3 separate regions of the Homo sapiens genome follow, and all the other regions are linked to region 1. The links are contacts of gene promoters, found by promoter capture Hi-C in human tissues and cell types (Jung and others, 2019). All regions are on one chromosome and are shown on one strand. The core of a region is centred on a gene start or on the middle of the fragment in contact, and the rest is flanking DNA. Distances in the headings are between cores, read along the strand shown.

Evidence for each region. The method cuts DNA at HindIII sites, captures the fragments that hold promoters and counts their contacts. A contact is called where the count stands out against the background at its distance.
Region 2: a fragment that was not itself captured here is called in contact with the fragment with the promoter of SLC24A2 in region 1 in 5 of the 25 tissues and cell types used here (H1 embryonic stem cells, aorta, dorsolateral prefrontal cortex and 2 more).
Region 3: a fragment that was not itself captured here is called in contact with the fragment with the promoter of SLC24A2 in region 1 in 3 of the 25 tissues and cell types used here (bladder, dorsolateral prefrontal cortex and psoas muscle).

What each region holds. Positions count from the first base shown.
Region 1 is chr9:19,787,475-19,790,430 of GRCh38, reverse strand. It overlaps SLC24A2 (solute carrier family 24 member 2), which reads left to right and starts at 1,394. Exons shown (of 11, transcript NM_020344.4): 1 at 1,394-1,546. It overlaps LOC124902128 (a long non-coding RNA gene), which reads right to left and starts at 1,272. Exons shown (of 2, transcript XR_007061432.1): 1 at 1,153-1,272. RefSeq lists an enhancer at 1,831-2,478. The HindIII fragment of the contact is 14,556 bases long and covers 1-2,956 here.
Region 2 is chr9:19,753,709-19,756,642 of GRCh38, reverse strand. All of the region lies in intron 2 of SLC24A2 (solute carrier family 24 member 2), which reads left to right. Among named protein-coding and RNA genes, the nearest start is that of SLC24A2, 34 kb to the left of the region's middle. The HindIII fragment of the contact is 3,016 bases long and covers 1-2,934 here.
Region 3 is chr9:19,840,390-19,843,193 of GRCh38, reverse strand. It overlaps a transcript of SLC24A2 not described here. Among named protein-coding and RNA genes, the nearest start is that of SLC24A2, 53 kb to the right of the region's middle. The HindIII fragment of the contact is 5,030 bases long and covers 1-2,804 here.

The DNA of each region.
Region 1 (2,956 bases), core at 145-2,644:
AAATATTTACAGATAAAATGATATGATGCTCTGGGATTTGCTTCAAAATGATGACATAGGAAAAAGGGGTATAGATGAAATATGACTGTCCATGAGTTCATAATTGTTCAAGCTGGTTATGGCCCCATGGAGATTCATTATACTACTTTCTTACATTTGTATATGTTTGAAATTTTCTAAATTAAAAGTTAAAGATAAAAAAATTCAGTCAGGCACCTATAGTCTGCAAGCACTTGGGAGTCTGAGGCTGGAGGATGGCTAGAGCCCAGGAATTCAAGACAAGCTTGGGCAACATAGCAAGATTCAGTCTCGAAAGGAGAAAGAAAAAGAAAAGTTGAGTCTTGAATGCCTGGCTTTGATTGGGGGGTGGGGGGAAGAAAAATATTTCTAAGTTCCCTAGGCTTCCCTTTACTTATTGATGAGTAGGCCCAGAGGTCTGACTACAGAGCTGTACTCTAAGTCAGAGGTCATGAGCTCTCAGGATATACCCATTACCCCCATTGTAAGGAGGGCATGAAGAAACCCTCTTGGATGGGGGAGAGAACAGAAGGATGGAGGGTAAGGAGAGGGGAAAATGTGCGAAAAGCTTTCAGAGCTTCACGAGTTGGGTACCTCTTGGCAGCTTTGCTGGTGGTCACAGGGTTGGGTAAAAGGGGTTCCCTCACTACCAATTTGTCTTACCACCGTCTTCCATTCTTTGGCCCAGATTCTAGTCTCTCATCCCCAACAAGCCTGATTCTATTTCTTGTGGTCAAGGGGATCTTGCTTTCCAGATAGGACAGGAAGGAGCACTGGGCTGGACATCCCGAGGCCAAAAGCCGAAGCCTGTCAGTGATTCAAAATGACACGGGGTTTTGGGTCTCACTTTCATCACCCATGAAATGAAAGGTCACCCTGCAAGACTGAAGCCCCTGCAGTGTCCCAAGCATCCAAATCCAACACTCAAGAAACCCTGGACCCCAACAGCCTGTCCTGCAGGCCTCCGTGCCTTTTCATTGAACGTCTTTTCCACCATTACACATCACATCGCCTCCTAAAGAAAAGCGCGACTGCTATCACTTTTTGCAGATAATTGGAGAGGCGGTGCCCAGCATAAGATGACCCCAAAGTTGACAGCACTTTCAGGCTTTGTGAATTAGGCGCGTCACCGACCTGTACGATTTCTCCTCTCTGCCCTTGCTCGCCTGCAAATCCTGACCCCCGTCCACACTGCGGAGAAATCTCCTAAGAGACGGCTGCCAGCGTCGCCTCTGCGCCCAGGAGGCGTGGAGCAAAGGACTCGGGAGCTGAGCGCGCTGCGGCCCCGCTCCCAGCGCACAGCGCACAGCCCAGAGGGAGGGGCCGGCGGGGGCCGGGCAGCGCCAGACTCGGAGCGCCGGGCTCACAGCGGCTCAGTCTCCTCCCGAACCCAGCCCGGCTGGCGAGAGCGGCAGCCAGTGCGAGCCAGAGCCCGGGCCTCAGAGCGGGTAGGCGGAGGGCCGGCGGACTGGAGCGGCGGGCCGCGCTCGGGGGCCCCGCCGTGTGCGCGTCCTCCCATCTTATCCTGGTAAGTGCGGGCGGCTGCGCCCCGCCTGCCGCTGTAGCCGCTGTGGCGGTCGTCCCCGCATCCCGGTTGCGCGCATCCCGTTGCTGCTCTGCAGGCTCACAGGTGGCTCTGCCGTGGATGTGGGCGCCCCAGGCCCCGCTAGGAGTTAGCCAACTCTCTGTGCTCCGGGGCGTGGATTTGGAGCCCCCGCCTCTCCTACCCTTGCTTTTGGCTTGGGATGGGGGGCGTGGGGCAGGGCCTGCCGTCGGGGGAGACGCGCAGAGGGGCGCTTCCATTCCCCAGCCACCTACAAACGACTCAGGGGGATGCGGGCCAAGCGCCTCACCAAATGCAACCCAGCTCCAAGCTCACAGGTGGGGCGTCTGTCCTTTAGATTTATTTTCCTATTAATCCACCAGGGAAAGTTTGGGACCACGCAAGGCAAAGTTGGGGCGCGGCTGGGGGCGAACATTCTCCTACGGAGGCAGCTCCCGGGGAGACGAGCGGTGGGTTTTCAGGGGGAGCGAGGATCGGGCTGGAGATGACTTTGCGCCCGGGGAGTTGAATCTGTCCCTGCTGGTCGCCCGGGCCGGGCATTTACACAATCCCCTGAGTGCTGTGAATCGCTTAATCGTTCCTGCTAAGCGTTGACGTTCGCAGCCACCTGGGAATCTCCGTGATGGGGTCGGGTTATCTCAGGAGTAGCAGCAACTCAGCGGGGTTGATTTGTGCTCTTGCTTTGCTCTGAAAACCTGAGCTCCAGCTAATCTCAGTATTTAAGTGGCGTGTGTTTAATTAGCTTATTTTACACCTGAGATTATCTCAGCGACTGCCTCCAAAATGAAATCGTTGATATGGAAAAGAATAGTCTTTTTAAAGAAAAACTAAAAAGAGAACTCTTCAGAATATCAGCTGTCAAGTCTGGCTATTTTACCCATCTCCTCCGTGGGATAGAGAAAGAAAACTCTGCTTTGGATATCTAACCTATTAAAGTCAGTGGTGGGGCTATTTTGGGCAGATTTTGTGGACAGAGGTATTGCTACAACTTGCGTATTGTTTATGAAATACACATGTGGTCTCTCGAAATAGCCTACTTGTTATTTCACTGCATTGGGAGTTCTTTGACTTACTAAGCTGCCTATTTTAAATATGACTAAAGGTTGTTTTTTTAAAAAAAATATTTAGCTGAAAACAATGTCTAGATGTTTAGGGAAGGCAGCTTGTGCATGTCACCAGAATTTTTTTTTGTAAACTTAAATTTGTAAAGGACTACTTTCCCGCATCTGATAAAGGAGAGACTTTTTATGAAAAATAAGATCTGATATCATTATGTGTGCAGAAAAAAGATCACTAAATTAAAGAATCACTCACTTTCCAAATGATAGGTTAAATCAGAAAAAGTTGCCTACAACTGAGAATTATGTAATTGGA
Region 2 (2,934 bases), core at 242-2,741, 34 kb after region 1:
GTGAATTAGTTGTCACATAATTACATGACTGCCCAAGCAGAGAACCCAGCTGGGCCATGCTGGGCCTGGACTTCTGACAACAGAAACTGTAGGATAATATATAAATATTGTTGTCAGCATCAAATTTTGTGGTAATGTGTTAGAGCAGCAATAGAAAATTAATACACTCATGATAACAGCATTATATAAAAAGCTGTCCAAAAATGTTAGAATATCAATAGCTAAGCTTTGAATATTTGCAAAGAATCACCACAAAATATTTAAGCCTATGATTCTCTTCTTCTCAGAGTCCCTTTGGATTTATTTTCTTTCTTGCCATTTCTATAGTTTTTTTAAAACTCCTCTGCAGAAGGGCACATCCATTTGTTTATGGATTCATTCATCAAATATTTATTATATATCAACTATGTATGTGCCTGGCTGGGCATTTGGAGGTAAAATCTGATTTAGGAATGGTCATTTCACAGACATGAAAGCAGATCATTGTATACAGTTTCAGTGCTCAAATTTGAAGGTTATTGCTGGACACACAGGGCACTCAAAGCAGTTAGCAGGTAGCAGGTAACTTGGTGAATTTGCCATGGTCAGGAACCTGGCCCTCAGCCCAGTGGAATCATAAACCTGATCATGATAGCTCACTGCAAAGGGATTGTCTCTCCTAGGTGGACTTATGTGAACCAAGCTCATTATGACTGCTATATATTAATACAAATCCAATTACAGCCCATTGTAATACAATGAGAGCTACATCGCTAAAACCAAATGGAAAGGTAAAATCAGTGCCGTATCTGACTGTAGGTGAGTAAAATTATAATAACCAGGTGACAATCTATTAATTTACGATTAGGAATTAAACTGTGAAGTTGACTGTTCTGACTAGCACGTTGGCTGTCTACAGATAACAAACTAAGGAGCCAGATTATGGCATCGTAGTGGACTTAAGAAGTGTTGCTTTGCTAAAATAGCTTGATAGACTCTGACCCACAGCAGGGATGACCTTACTGAGGAAAATGGAGCATTTGCCCAGCCAAGATTTCCTCTATCCTTCAGCACCGTTGGACAGGCCTGGCCAACTCTTGCTGTAATTTCCCCTCTTTGTCATACTTCCACACCCGGCCACCTGTTTCACACTATTTCCGTAACACAGTACGGTAGATACAATTATGTTTTCACTTAATAAGTTTCAATTATTTTTTTCAGTTCTTCAAGGTTGCTCCCAAGTCACGTGGATTAGAATTTGGGGTGTTCTACTTTTTACTTATATGTGATAAACAGTCCTCTGGGTTTGTGCTCACAGAGAATTGATCAATGGGATAACTGCAATAATAGAAGTGTACAGAGGGTCCTATGAGAACTTAGGACAAGAAAAAACTAACATGTATTGAATTCCTACTAGGGACCAAGTACTTGGCAAGGATTCTACATGTATTATCTTATGTAATCCTGTAGTATCCCCATCATGTAAAAACTGGAGATTAAGGAACTTGCCCCTGGTTGCAAATCAAGCTAGAGGCGGGACCAGGATTTAAGCCCAGGCCATCTGAGCTCAGAGCTTATGTTCTTAACTGCTGTGCTCTCTTGCCTGCCTTTCATCTTTCAGTCTTTATACCTGCTCAGAAGGTTAGAGAGGTATATCAGTCTAGGCTCGGTTGCAGAAAATAGAAACCATCTTATTATTTTAAAGAGAGATCAGGTTTTAATGTAGGAATTGGATGCTTATAAAATCATTGAAAGGCCTGTGGAGCAGGCTAGGTCTCAGTGTGCTATGTCTCGGACCTCACTGTAAAACTGGTCTGCCTGAAGAGAGCTGCTTCTGCCTGTCGAGCAGGAGAGGAATCGGGATGCTGCCACTGGAACTGTGCATTTTGGCACAGTTTTGGTTCTCTAAAAGAAGCTTGGAGTTGCATTTTGGCACATACCACCACCAGGGCCCTGCCATTCAGTGCTTAGGATCCTAGTTACAAAACACCACAGGTTATTAAAAAAAAAAAAAAAATCCTCCCATGATTTCCAGGAGAAAGAGCAGAAACACAGCCTCTAACCTGACTTTCACCTTCTAAATCCAGCTTGAGAGTGTCTGATTGGCTGAACCTAAATAAACCCTGCACCCAGCTGCAAGGGCATCTGTACTGTCAGATTTCCAAGCCTCTGCAGATCAGGAAGGCATGCTAGAAGGAAAGTGGAATAGACACTGGGCACCAGTCCCGCTGTCATTGAAGAATTCAAGGCTCAAAGGTTCAGTTGAAGTGCTTAAGTTCACACAGTGAGAAATAGGGCTGGCCAGGCTGTCATGAGATTGTCATGCTCCAAGTCCTACGCTCTTCATGCCTTGGGGAAGGAGGATAGACGGGTGGCTTCAGGAAGAGACTGGCTCTTAGAAGAGTGGACTGTAGTCCTGGGGAGGCAATGAGTGGGGCAGGGCCTGTGGCTGCAGGCGGATCCTTTCTTCTACCCTGCCACTGAGGATGTGGCTCCTTTGACAGAATCTCTGAGGAATTCATTCAGTGGCTTACCTTGGTGAAAGCTGAGTAGTAAGCTTTTTTACCTTCATAGTGTAGTTTAAATTGTTAATGTTGTGGAAAGGATAGGAGTTTTTAAAATTTTTTTTAAGTGTGCTTTTTTGTATCCATGTTCAAATATGTAATCAGTCATTTTCATACCTTTGCTGCTAAAAATACTGCTTGGTTCTCTAAAAGAAGCTTGGAGTTTGATGCAGGTGGAAGGAGATGCTGCCAGATGCCAATTTTTGGAGCCAGAAAGTGCTTGTGGGTCTCATCCCCTGCCACTTTATGTGACAGAGAGAAATCTGAAGGAACTGCTGTGCTCTCCCTGTCCGATACATATCCAGGTGACACAGGATGCCCATCTGGTCCTTGGCTTGCTTTTCTCACTAGTACATACCTTTGGTGGGATGGTAGTTTTAAAGGAATATAA
Region 3 (2,804 bases), core at 169-2,668, 53 kb before region 1:
AGGGCACAATTTCAAGACAAAGGACACTCTTCTAACTAGAACATATTAGCTTTTTTAAAAAAAACCTGGCTGCATATCTTTATTTTTTCCCTTTTGCCCTAAACAGATGACAGCATTGTTCATGGACTGGCACCAGCACTTGAGAAACACTACCACGGGATATATACAGAAGTACAAAGACACAGTTCTGGCTTCAAATGACCCTACAATCAGCTGGGGGATATAAAATCTAAACATTGAAAACATAATAATTAAGTGATAATCCAACATTAGGAAAAACATTATAAAGTATAAAATCATTTATTATAGAAGGGAGAGATCCCCAGGAACTTGGGAGCTTAGTGGAAGCTTAGTGATCTGAGCTGTGTTTGAAGAATGGAGAGATATCAGAAATTTTAGAGGGGGACTGTCAGATAGAAGGACTGTGTAGAATAGATAAAAGCACAATATATACAATACAGCTATTGGTTCAGTAGCATAAAGCACTCAAAATTTCTAAGTTGTAGTTTCATATTTCAGTTTAGTGGAACCATTGTGTTCATTGGTGGGAACATCCCCCCCTTGGAGACTAAGGTCTCTAAACCAGTATAGCTCAAAGTTGCCAGGATAAGAAGCAGAATTTCTGTGAGTGAGATATTACTTGGAATTGTGAGAGTAGCCATTCCTACTTTCATCCCTTGATTTCTGGACCCATGTATTCTGGCCATGGGGACAGCAACATATAATAACCTCTGATTCAAAGCATAAATCGTTTCCTGTATAATAGAGCCCATTCTTTTCAAGTGTTGTCTCCTAACTACATCATAACTGAGTCTTCAGTAAGCCATTCTACCTTTCAGTTAAGCTAGCTGCTTCTGGATCATGGAGTATGTAGTAAGACCAGTTCATTCAACAGTTATGATCCCAGTGCTGCATTTCTTTTGTAGACAATTAGTTTATTGATCAGACTCAATACTGTACAGAAATCCATGATGATGGATAGGGCATTCTGAGGGTCCTTGGATGCGGTGCTGACAGAAGCATTATGAGCAGGAAATGTAAATTCTTATTTAGAATATGTATGCTTCCTAGGAAGATGAATCTCTGCCACTTCCATAATAGAAGATGTCTAATGTAATCAATCTGTCACCAGGTGACTGGTCAGTTCCCACAGGGAATGGTGGCATATCCAGGATTCCATCTTGGTATCTGCTGTTGGCAGATTGGATACTCAACAGTAATATTAGACAGATAATTCTTCATAAGGAGAAGTTCATGCTGTTAAGCCCATGCTTAGCCTCCATCCCTGCCACCATAGACACTTTATTCATGGGCCCAATAAGCACTAGGGTGGCTGGTGTTACTGATATCCACAGAATGAATAATTATGCCCCCCTGATTATTAAGAGTCTCCTCTGCAATGGATGCCTGTTGATGAGCATTGATATTGGGTACAAATATCTGCAGTCTGTGTCCATTCAGAGAGATCCAGCCATATACCTCTTCCCCAGACTTCCTTGTTACCAATATTCCAATCCTATTCAGTGTCCTCACTTGACAAAGCTTCAGTGTGACCTGGCAAGGAAAAACTATTTAAAGGGCACAGATCCAATTTCAAAGAACAGGCCAAAAAGGTGAATTAAGAGCTGAGAGGTAATAAATTGATAACTGGCATGTCATCCTACCTAGCACATTATGCCCTCCCCTAACCCATCATCTACCAATCCCTTTGAGGGGCACTTCACCTATGCACATTGAAAAGACCAGGTATGTGTCTGCCTGAAGGGTTTCACCTTGCTCTTCTTTTACCAAGGATGCTTCTTTCCCAGATATCCAGATGACTTGCCCCTCATCTCCTTCAGGTCTTTGCCCAAATGCCATCCCCTTAGTGATGGCATCCCTGGACACCTCACACTCCCTATTCCCCTTCTCTGCCTTATTTTACTCCATAACACTTATTGACATATAATGTTATATCTGTCTTACTTATTTTTAGTCTCTTCTCCAGAAAACAATCTCCACAAAAACAGAGATGCTTTTTTGTTCATTTTTGCATCCTCAGCATTTAAAATAATGCCTGGCTCAGAGTAAGCTCTTAATAAATACGTGTTTATTGAGTGGTTATAGAAAACTTAGATGTTCTTTGTGTTCATTTAAGCCAATGGTGATTGAAAAGTCTATGGTTCATAAAAAAAAACTATAAACCATCCAGCTGTTCATCAACAGGAAGATTGATATATATTCCCTTATGTACAATGGAAAATTACTCATCAATAAAAAGGAATTAACTCCTGATACACACAGCAACATGGATAATTCTTTAAAAAAATGTTGAGCAAAAGAAGCCAGTTTAAAGGTAAATGCTGTATGACTCCCTTTCTATAAAGTTCTGTAACTGGTAAAACTAACGTTAAGATGATAAAAATCAGAGAGAGGGGAAGGGAGCTCAAGGGTACCTTCTAGGGTGATAGAAATGTTGTATGCTTGATTGGGGTGGAGGTCACACAGAAATATGCGCTTGTCAAAACTCATTGAATGACACACTTAAAATAAATACATTTCATCCTATGTAAATTTTACCTCAATGAAAAACTGGATACCAATTTAAATGCAAAATAAATATAAAGTTACAAAACAATCTGTAATCCCAATTTGATGAATATCTGTTCATTAAACCAGAAGAAAAATTCAAGGTCATTCCCCAGAAATCAAGTCATAAAAGAGATTAGCTAAGGGCCCAGGAAAAGCTCCTGTATAGCTGAATAGGGAAATTGGGAAGTATTAAGTCTCTCCTCAAACATTTCGAATTAAGAGGCCTGTAGTTC